Regions from separate parts of the Homo sapiens genome. Here region 2 is linked to region 1. Evidence: promoter capture Hi-C in 16 types of primary human blood cells and fetal thymus (Javierre and others, 2016). All regions are on one chromosome and are shown on one strand. The core of a region is centred on a gene start or on the middle of the fragment in contact, and the rest is flanking DNA. Distances in the headings are between cores, read along the strand shown. Region 1 holds the start of ZFYVE27 (zinc finger FYVE-type containing 27). Region 2 holds the start of FRAT2 (FRAT regulator of Wnt signaling pathway 2).

Region 1 (4,361 bases), core at 4-2,503:
GCAAGGGAAAGTGAACTATTCAGACCTAAAATCCTGTTCTTTGTACTCTCCATCCAATGCTCTTTTCCCCAAAGATCCATCAAAACTAAAAATCATAAAAACCAAGCATAAATGATCGCTGCAGCGAGGCAGCCCATGGGCTGAAATGAAATGATGTCCTGGAACATTTTTCTCCCACTCTTTACCTGGTTAATTCCTACTCATCCTTCAGGTATCAGCTTAAACATCACTCCCTTACTCTGGGAAGTCTCTGCCAACACCCCCAACTCTGGACTGGGAGACCCTCTCCGATGCTCCCAAAGGATCACGTACTCACCCTAACAGAGCACTTATCACATCACATCGCTTCTTGGCCTTGTGGCTAAGATCAAGTGCAGAGCACTGACCACGTCAAAGTAAAACTCCCTGCTCTTAACTGGCCTCCATTCACGACTGCTTCTGTACACAGTGGGTGCTTAACAAATGCCTGCTGAATGAGTGAATGAAATACCGTGCTCCAGGACTCTCGCCCGATCCTCTAACTCTTCCCACTCCCTTCGGTTCCCAACAACTTCCTGGGCCATCTCTGCCCCAGGGCAGTCGGCATCAGAACGCCCCATTCCCGTCTGCCCTTTCTGATGAGGAAACCGAGGAGCCTTTACGGTCTTTCCCAGTTCAAAGTCCTATCCTGAACTCTAAGCAGCAAACGAGGGGGCGGAACCTCGGCGAAGAGCAACATAAACCAGTCCCAGGCAATCAGCCGCGACCTGATGGGAGGGTGAGGGGATGGGACAAAGGGGCCAACGGGACCCCGAAATCCCCGCAGGCCGAGCCAAGGCGAAAGGGCACAGAGCGGCGCCAGGTATGAGCCCAGGAAGGGGCGAGGTATATCGACGCCCGCACTGGCCTTGGCCAACACCTCTGCAGCCAGGGGGGCCTGATGGAGCCCGTGAGGCTGGACAGGGAAGGCCATGCCCGAGGTCGTGGGGCCAGCATGTGGCGGCCCCCGCTGCGCCCAAGCACCCAACTACACACAGCCTGCGGAGACACTGGGACGCGGGGGGACGGCACCTCACCTACCCGGCCGCTGGCTCCGTGAGGGAGGCGGCAGGGTCGGGCAGGAGCAGGGGTAGAGCCACTGGGCCCCGGAGCGTTTCTTCAGGCCTCCCCCGGCTGAACGCCGCTCCTCCTGCCAGGGTTGTTCGGAAGTCGCAGGTCCGAAAATCTCCTCCGCCTACGCCGCGGCCGCCACCGCCGCTTCCGGGACGCGAATCGCTCTGCGGCTGCGTCCTCATGACGTCATCCCGCTCCGGGTTTAGCTCCGCCCACCCCAGCACAGGCAAGCACCCTTGCCAGCAGTGCGCCTGCGCGTCTTTCCCGCGCGCTCCAGGCTGGAGTTAATTCTGTCCTTGGCCGGCCGCCGTTCACAAAGCCTTGAGGACCCTTGGAAGCACGTGCTTGGCGACCCTGCAGCTCGTTGCCCTGCCTTGCCGCAGGGAACAGTTGGCGAGAGGCTTAAATGAAGAATTTACGTCTTCATCCTCTTTCCTTCCAACTTTGGAACTGAACTGGGGACTGTGTGTGAGCCCCGGAAAGACACCGTATCCTGTATGAGATGCCCAGCAGAGCATGCAGTTGTTTCCGGAGTAGCTAGTGTGTACAAGGTCCTGTGCAGGCCTCTCCCAGCTCAGTTCACTTCACACCGTGTGGCCCAGTTAATTTCCCTTAAAGCACACATCCGATGGCTTTATATTAGTGACTTAGCGCTCAGGTACAGAGGAGCCAAGCACTGAACCGGACTGAGCTCTTTTTAGACATTATCTAGTTCTCCTCCAACGACCCTATTAGGGTTGTCGCCATTTTACAGATGGGGAATCTCAGACGTGTTAAGGAACTTCTTTAGAGTCACAGCTAAGAAGCAAATGGGAGCTGGAATTTGAAGCTTATGTGTCATCTGACCCCAACGCCCCAACCATACCACCACCCACCTTGGTCTGCATTTCCTGGTCTTGTCTCCTGCCATCTTTCAGCTGCCTTTAACTTTGGCCAACTGAACCCCTCCACTGTTACCCTCAAATGCCCCTGGCACTCAAATGTCTGTATCCCTTCCTTGAGTGCCCCAGCTGGAAGTAATCACTTCCCTCTTCAAGTAGCCACAGAGCTTTAACTGCATCTCTTCCTCCATTATCTCCTTTCAGAAAGACAGGCCCATCCCTCCAGCCAGGACTTAGCTGTGCTCCAGGGTCCAACTCTTATTTCCTTAGGGCTTTGCTCTAACAGGCCTGAAATCTTGACTCTCGCTAACTCTTAATCATCATTCTAGAGACAAAATTCATGGAAAATTTCTCCTTTAGCCTAACTTTACCCCCTCTTTCCTACATGAGTTGGAAGACTCACTGTGAAGTGCTCTCTACCGCTGCTTCCTCGCCCAATTCACTCCTCACTGCACTGTGGTCCTGCTCCCCTCCATATTTCTGGGCTACCTGCCTGCTCACCTGTGACATCCTGGCTGCTAAATCCAATGGACACTTCCCAGTCCTCCTTGCAGATGACCTCAGAAGCACTGGAATCTCTTTCCTTTTTGGCACCATTGTCCACCTTAGCTTCCATGACACCACCCTCTCCTCTCTTTCCGACCTTCAAGGTCTCCTTAGGGCTTTTCTTCCTACCCCTCAAATGCTGGGGCTCCTTTTGCTACCCTTCTTTCTTCTGACTCAAGGCACTCCGTGAGGATCTCATTCACTCTTGTGGCTTCTGTCAGCTAATGTTTCGTTTCCCGTGTCTATGTCTCCAGCACCTAAAGCAGTACCTGGCACATAGTAGGCATTCTGTTAAGAAGGGTTGCAAGATGTTACCATTGGGGGGTAGTCTGTGGGATCACCCTGTGTTAGTTCTTATAACTATGTATAAATTGACGATTGTCCCAAAAGTAAATGCTTACCCTGTGTAGGTATTTTTCTCAAAGCTCCCTGCTTTAGTTGACTTTGTCAATTACCCGGCATGCGCCAGTCCCAACATAAGTAAGGTAGGAGGGCTTCTCCTCAGATGAATTGCTTGGTTGGTTTTTCCAGCTGTAAAATGGGGATAACCATAGTGGTACCCTCAGTGTGGGGCTGTGATGAGAATTAAATGAGCTAAAGTATGTAAATTCCTGACATGTTATAAGTGTTCAAAAATCGTTAGCAATCATTGTGATTTTTATTTTTACTCAAAGCCCTACCACCACCACCCCTAGCCCAAAAATCAGACAAGAATCCACGAAAGGCCAAAATGTAGAAAGATCCAATTCCCACACATATCACTAAGCCATATACAGAAATCCACTCACCACCCCTTAGAGAAATGGACTGAGCTTTGTGGTGGTCCAGGCCCATCTGCTGGACTCTGCCTCTCCTCCCTTAGGATGGGTCTTTTCCCCGAAAGCTCCTGGGTCTGTCATGCAGATAGCCTCTGAAGGCCCCTCTTCTTCGTTTCCTAACCTGGCCTCAGGTCTGAATTCCAGGATAGGCCATCGCCACTCCCCACCCACTCCCATCCCCCACCCTGTCCACCCCTCTGTACCTTTCTCAGACCACTCTCTTGGTGGATAGTTTCAGTGGCCCCCTGTGACCTCCAGGATAAAACCAAAGCCTGGTGTATTCAACTCTGGCAGTTCTCGGATATGTCACACCTTCTCCCATTACTGTACCTTTCTACAGACTACTCTCACCTTTTTTTTTTTTTTTTTTTTGAGATAGAGTTTTGCTCTTGTTGCGCAGGCTGGAGTGCAATGGAGAAATCTTGGCTCACTGCAACTTTTGCCTCCCAGGTTCAAGCGATTCTTCCGCCTCAGCCTCCTAAGTAGCTGGAATTACAGGCATGCACCACCATGCCTGGCTAATTTTTTGTATTTAGTAGAGATGGGGTTTCACCATGTTGGCTAGACTGGTCTCAAACTCCTTACCTCAGGTGATCCACCTGCCTCGACCTCCCAAAGCGCTGGGATTACAGACGTGAGCCACTGCGCCCCATATTCTTTAGTTGGCCAGCTCTTATTCTTCCTCCAAAATTCAGCTCAGATCTCACCCCTGAAGAAAGACTTCTCTGACACCTTCCCCATCAGCAGCCACTGTCTGGATTACGTGCCCTTCTGACTTGGCTCCGTGGGCCTGCCCCACCCCAGCACTTGGTGCCTCCTCCTCTCTCTAGACAGTGAGAGTCCTGAGGGAACTGCCTATAATTTCTGTGTCCAGCATCTAGCACAAAGGAGGTACCAACAAATGTTCCTTGAATGAGCGCATGCGTGTCAGTTTCCTCTTGGAGCACAGAATTCACATCTCTTTCAACAAAAGCCCCAGAACAATGCCCATTTCTTTTTTCTTTTTCTTATCTTTCTTTCCTTT
Region 2 (4,779 bases), core at 1,815-4,314, 400 kb after region 1:
AGAAAGGAGGAAAACATTACCATTTTAACTCTACTGAAATCCGTAAGCCCTCCCCTAATTTTCATTCCTCTCGAAATTCTCCAGTAAGTACCATCGGAATGAAAATGAGAATCAGTCTCTCCGGGGGGAATGGCTTCCAGTCCTCATCAGTAAAGTGTGTGAACAGCCCTCGGGAGATGGAGGTGGGAGGCTGCCCACTGGGAAAGTCTCCATCACTCAAACCTGCAGAACTAGTTGCGGAGACTCACTGTGGGGCATGGGAGCCTCCGGGCTGACTTCAGTAAAGCCCTACACAATCCCAGGTCAGGGTAGACCTGAGGCAGAATTTAAGAAACCTGGCAAGTGCACAGAAGTAATACCCTCAGGGTACGTTTCACCTAGTGGGCTGCATGGGGGGGATCTTCAACATTATTATGTTAAATGCTCCCCAGGGGGGACTCGCTGGAATTGAGCCAGACCTCTGTTAGTAAACCGCTGGACCTAATCCTACATTTGTGTAATGCCTGACAACACCCGTTCCCATTATCTTATTTGATCCTGAAAACAATCCTCAGAGGGAGGCCAGGCAGGGATTATTTCTCCTATTTACAAGTGAAAACACTTGTAAACTGATTTGCCTGGAGTCCCACACCCAGGATGTGGCAGGAATGAGACTTGGATCTAGGTCTTTGTACAACCTGTTCTGGGTTCTTTTGACTTCACACAACAGACTGATCAAAACATTCCCAGCCCCACCCACTCCTCACAACCACCAGCTTAACCAGCAACTGGAAACTCACCAGACAGCTTGTGTTTATGCTACCCTCACACCTCTGTCCTAGTGAAGAAACACACCTTTGGCTGGCAAGCTCTCCAGGAAAAAATTAATTTCATGTCATCTCCTTGAAACAAAGACCAACATTAATCCCAGATGGATTTGAAAAAAAAATCAAGGCATTTGAAAAATCTAAAGAAAATAGAATGGAATATTTAATAACTTTCTGGCAGCAAGGAGACTCCAAATTTAGCATCGTGTTAGAAATTTCAAAGAGATTTTAAAATTTGCCTACATGAAAATTTGGTTTTAGTGGGGGAAAAAATGACTGTACAGAGCCAACAAAAGCCTGGAGACGTATTTGCGGCAAAATATGAAAAGGGTTAACATTTGGTATGTAAAGGAGTCATGCAAATACGTAAGAAACACTCCCTAGGAAAATCTTATTAGGAAATAGACAATTCATAAGAAAGGAAGTACAGTTTGTTAACAAACATTTAGAAAACTGCTCTACCTAACTGAAATCAAAGATATGCAAACTGAAGGGAGAAAATTTCCCTATATAATCCGCAAAAAAAAAAAAATTCAATAATACTCAAATACTAGTGAAGGTGTAATGATGTATGCTCAAGCATTAATGATGGTAGAGTACATTTACCTAACTCTTGGAAAGACACTTCCTGAACATTTATCAGTAAACCTTAAAATACCCAACTACTGTGACTTAAAATTCCACTCCTGGGAATATGCCCTAAGGAAAGAATCATCAATATCTTAAAGTGTCGCGCACAAAAATGTTAGTTACACACTTAACGATGGTGAAATTAGGCAAATGTTAAAAACATAGGCACTTGATGGAAACTTATGTAATCATTAAAATGTTTTCAAAGTGCATGCAATAACACGAAAAACGTTTATGATGTAAGGCAAAGTGGAAAAGTGTGTAACACTGTATGCATGTGTTTGTATACTACACTTTCATAGAACAAAGGCTAAAAAGGAAAAAAATTTAAATGTGAACCATGAGAGATTTTTTCCATCCCTTATATTTTTCTTTTTTTTTTTGAGACGGAGTCTCGCTTTGTTGCCCAGGCTGGAGTGCAGTGGCGTGATCTCGGCTCACTGCAACCTCCGCCTCCAGGGTTCAAACCATTCTCCTGCCTCAGTCTCCCGAGTAGCTGGGATTACAGGCGCCCGCCACCACGCCCGGCTAATTTTTGTATTTTTAGCAGAGATGGGGTTTCACCATGTTGGCCAGACTGGTCTGGAACTCCTGACCTCAGGTGATCCGCCCGCCTCGGCCTCCCAAAGTGTTGGGATCACAGGCATGAGCCACCCACCGCTCCTGGCCAATCCCCTATATTTCTATTTGAACCTTAAAAAAAAAAAAAGACCCTTCTTTAGCCGAGCGGCGGTGAGTCCTATTCTCATGATATGTCCGGGGGCTTGAAGACTGCGGGAGGGAAAGCCTCTGGGACCTCACCTCAGAGCGATTCTGCTCTGCTTCAAAGCGTCCCCTCTTAGGCCGGGCGCGGCGGCTGACGCCAGTAACCCCAACACTTTCGGAGGCCGAGGAGCGAGGACTCCTTGAGCCCAAGAGTTCGAGACCAGCCTGGGCAATATAGTGAGACCCCCCCCCCCCACCACCGTCTCTACAAAAAAAATTTTTTTAATTAGCCAGGCGTGGTGGCCGCGCCTGTGGTCCCAGCTGCTCCGGAGGCTTAAAGTGGGATGATTACTTAAGCCAGAGTTCGAGGCTGCAGTCAGCCGTGTTCGCGCCACTATACTTCAGCCTGGGCGACAGAGACCTTTTCTAAATAATAAATAAGTAAATAAGTAACGTGCCGCCTCTTCACTCCCAATTCCCTCCGCCTTTCCCCGCCCCGCCTCGTCGAAGCCGGACCCGCGGCGGCCCGCCCCTCCCCCACGACCAGGGCCGGGAACTGCGGGTGCGCGGGGCGGGAGTCGGGCGGGCTTAGGCGCGGCCGACACGTGGGGAGGGAGGCCGCGGCCCAGGAGGCGGGCCCGGAGTGGGTGTGGGTGTGTCCGTGCGTGGGAGAAACCAACCTCAGCCTCCTCCGAGGCGCCACGTTTCAGCACGGCTCGTTGGGCCCGGGAGGTCGGAAATCAGTCCCCACGCCCCGGACCCCCTCCTGGAGGGACAACGAACACAGGCGCGGGACGGCTTCGGTCACCGCCCGCGCCGCCCTTTGCCCCCGTGCCTGCTCGCGCGTCACCCCCGCCCCGGTGCGGTGGTAGGGCCCGGCGCGACGTCACCCATTGTTTACAAATCAACCCGAGCCGGCAGGATTCCGGCTCCAGCGGCTGCAGGCGCGTGGCTCGAGTGCCTGGCGGGCTCCGGCTTCCGCGTCCGCCCCTGCTCCGGCTTCGCCCGCAGCTCCGCGCCCGCGGGCAACCAAGCCCCCAGCGAAGCCCGCACAGCTCCGGGTGCCAGGACGGGGGGCCATGCCGTGCCGGAGGGAGGAGGAAGAGGAAGCCGGCGAGGAGGCGGAGGGGGAGGAAGAGGAGGACGACAGCTTCCTCCTGCTGCAGCAGTCGGTGACGCTGGGCAGCTCGGGCGAGGTGGACCGGCTGGTGGCCCAGATCGGCGAGACGCTGCAGCTGGACGCGGCGCAGGACAGCCCGGCCTCGCCGTGCGCGCCCCCGGGGGTGCCGCTGCGGGCCCCGGGGCCCCTGGCTGCGGCGGTGCCGGCGGACAAGGCCCGGCCCCCGGCGGTGCCGCTGCTGCTGCCGCCCGCTTCGGCTGAGACGGTGGGCCCGGCGCCCTCTGGGGCCCTGCGCTGCGCCCTAGGGGACCGCGGCCGCGTGCGCGGACGCGCTGCGCCCTACTGCGTGGCGGAGGTCGCCGCAGGCCCCAGCGCGCTGCCGGGGCCGTGCCGGCGAGGATGGCTCAGGGACGCGGTCACCTCCCGCCGCTTGCAGCAGCGCCGATGGACCCAAGCCGGGGCACGCGCCGGCGACGACGACCCGCATCGGCTCCTCCAGCAGCTCGTGCTCTCGGGAAACCTCATCAAGGAAGCCGTGCGGAGACTCCAACGAGCCGTCGCCGCGGTTGCAGCCACGGGCCCCGCAAGCGCCCCTGGGCCCGGGGGAGGCCGCAGCGGACCTGACCGCATTGCCCTGCAGCCCTCAGGCTCCTTGCTCTGACGCAGGCCTCCTGGAGGAGGAAGTGGAGGCCGCTGCGTAGACCCAACAGCGTCCAGTTCCTACTAACTCTGAGCTGAAGCCGACGTCGCCAGCCTGGGAGCGACCACTTTGGCTGCGGGGAGGCGCGTGGGGAGAGATCTCAACCAGAGAAGTTACCAGCCGCGGCGAGGCCGTCGGAGAAAACTTAAGCGTGGAGAAATGTATGCGCCAGGGTGCTTCCGTGGGGCATGAGAATTTCCCGGGCCATCCAAGCCCAAGGACCTGGGATAAACTGGGAGAACTATGGCAGCTACTTGCATCGACTTGTACCTCACTTAGCCCTTGGGGGCGTCGTGAGCTTGGATTGTTTAAGGAGGGCTCAGGGGTAGGAATCGCGATGGCTTTATAACAATACTTGAAAACTAACGACACGCATACATTTTCTTATTTTCTGGTGGAGGAGCTTAGTAAGTGGTGCTACAATTGCTGTGCAAAGAAATTCCAGAGGGGAGAAGAATGTAAAAGTTTGGTGGTGGGTGGCTTGGCATTGCCCCTTTTTCCCACCGATTCGGTGGCTGGTGAAGGTGGGAGATGTGAACTCCAATTAAGGGACTGGAGAGAGGTGAAGAATTTTGCAGGTGGGAGATTTGGATTTGAATGTGGACTTGTAAATGACTTGACCTTGCCATCTGTGTTCAAGGTCACGGTTTGCTGTGGGGTTCCTGGGAGAGCTTACTCACCCCGGAGTCTTTTCTTTCTCTTGCTCCAAGAAGAGCCCTGTTGGTGCTTTACCACCGCTTGGAGTCTCCCGAGGACACAAACAGGCAGAGAGGGACGTGTAGGGAGAGTTCTTTCCTGTTTTCTGTGCTTTCCTTTTT

The links. The method cuts DNA at HindIII sites, captures the fragments that hold promoters and counts their contacts. A CHiCAGO score of 5 or more calls a contact.
Region 2: a contact is called between the fragment with the promoter of FRAT2 here and the fragment with the promoter of ZFYVE27 in region 1, in 3 of 17 cell types (neutrophils, activated CD4 T cells and non-activated CD4 T cells). The highest score is 8.8, in neutrophils.

Annotation. Positions count from the first base shown.
Region 1 is chr10:97,734,020-97,738,380 of GRCh38, reverse strand. It overlaps ZFYVE27 (zinc finger FYVE-type containing 27), which reads right to left and starts at 1,253. Exons shown (of 13, transcript NM_001385875.1): 1 at 1,060-1,253. RefSeq lists a silencer at 988-1,057 and an enhancer at 1,388-1,537. The HindIII fragment of the contact is 3,622 bases long and covers 1-1,923 here.
Region 2 is chr10:97,333,014-97,337,792 of GRCh38, reverse strand. FRAT2 (FRAT regulator of Wnt signaling pathway 2) reads left to right here and starts at 3,064. Exons shown (of 1, transcript NM_012083.3): 1 at 3,064-4,779. The coding sequence starts at 3,221. The coding sequence ends at 3,922. It overlaps LOC105378448 (a long non-coding RNA gene), which reads right to left and starts at 2,947. Exons shown (of 2, transcript NR_188201.1): 1 at 2,822-2,947. RefSeq lists enhancers at 390-908, 3,446-4,353 and silencers at 2,496-2,845, 2,976-3,125, 3,216-3,365, 3,706-3,835, 3,846-3,895. The HindIII fragment of the contact is 20,442 bases long and covers 1-4,779 here.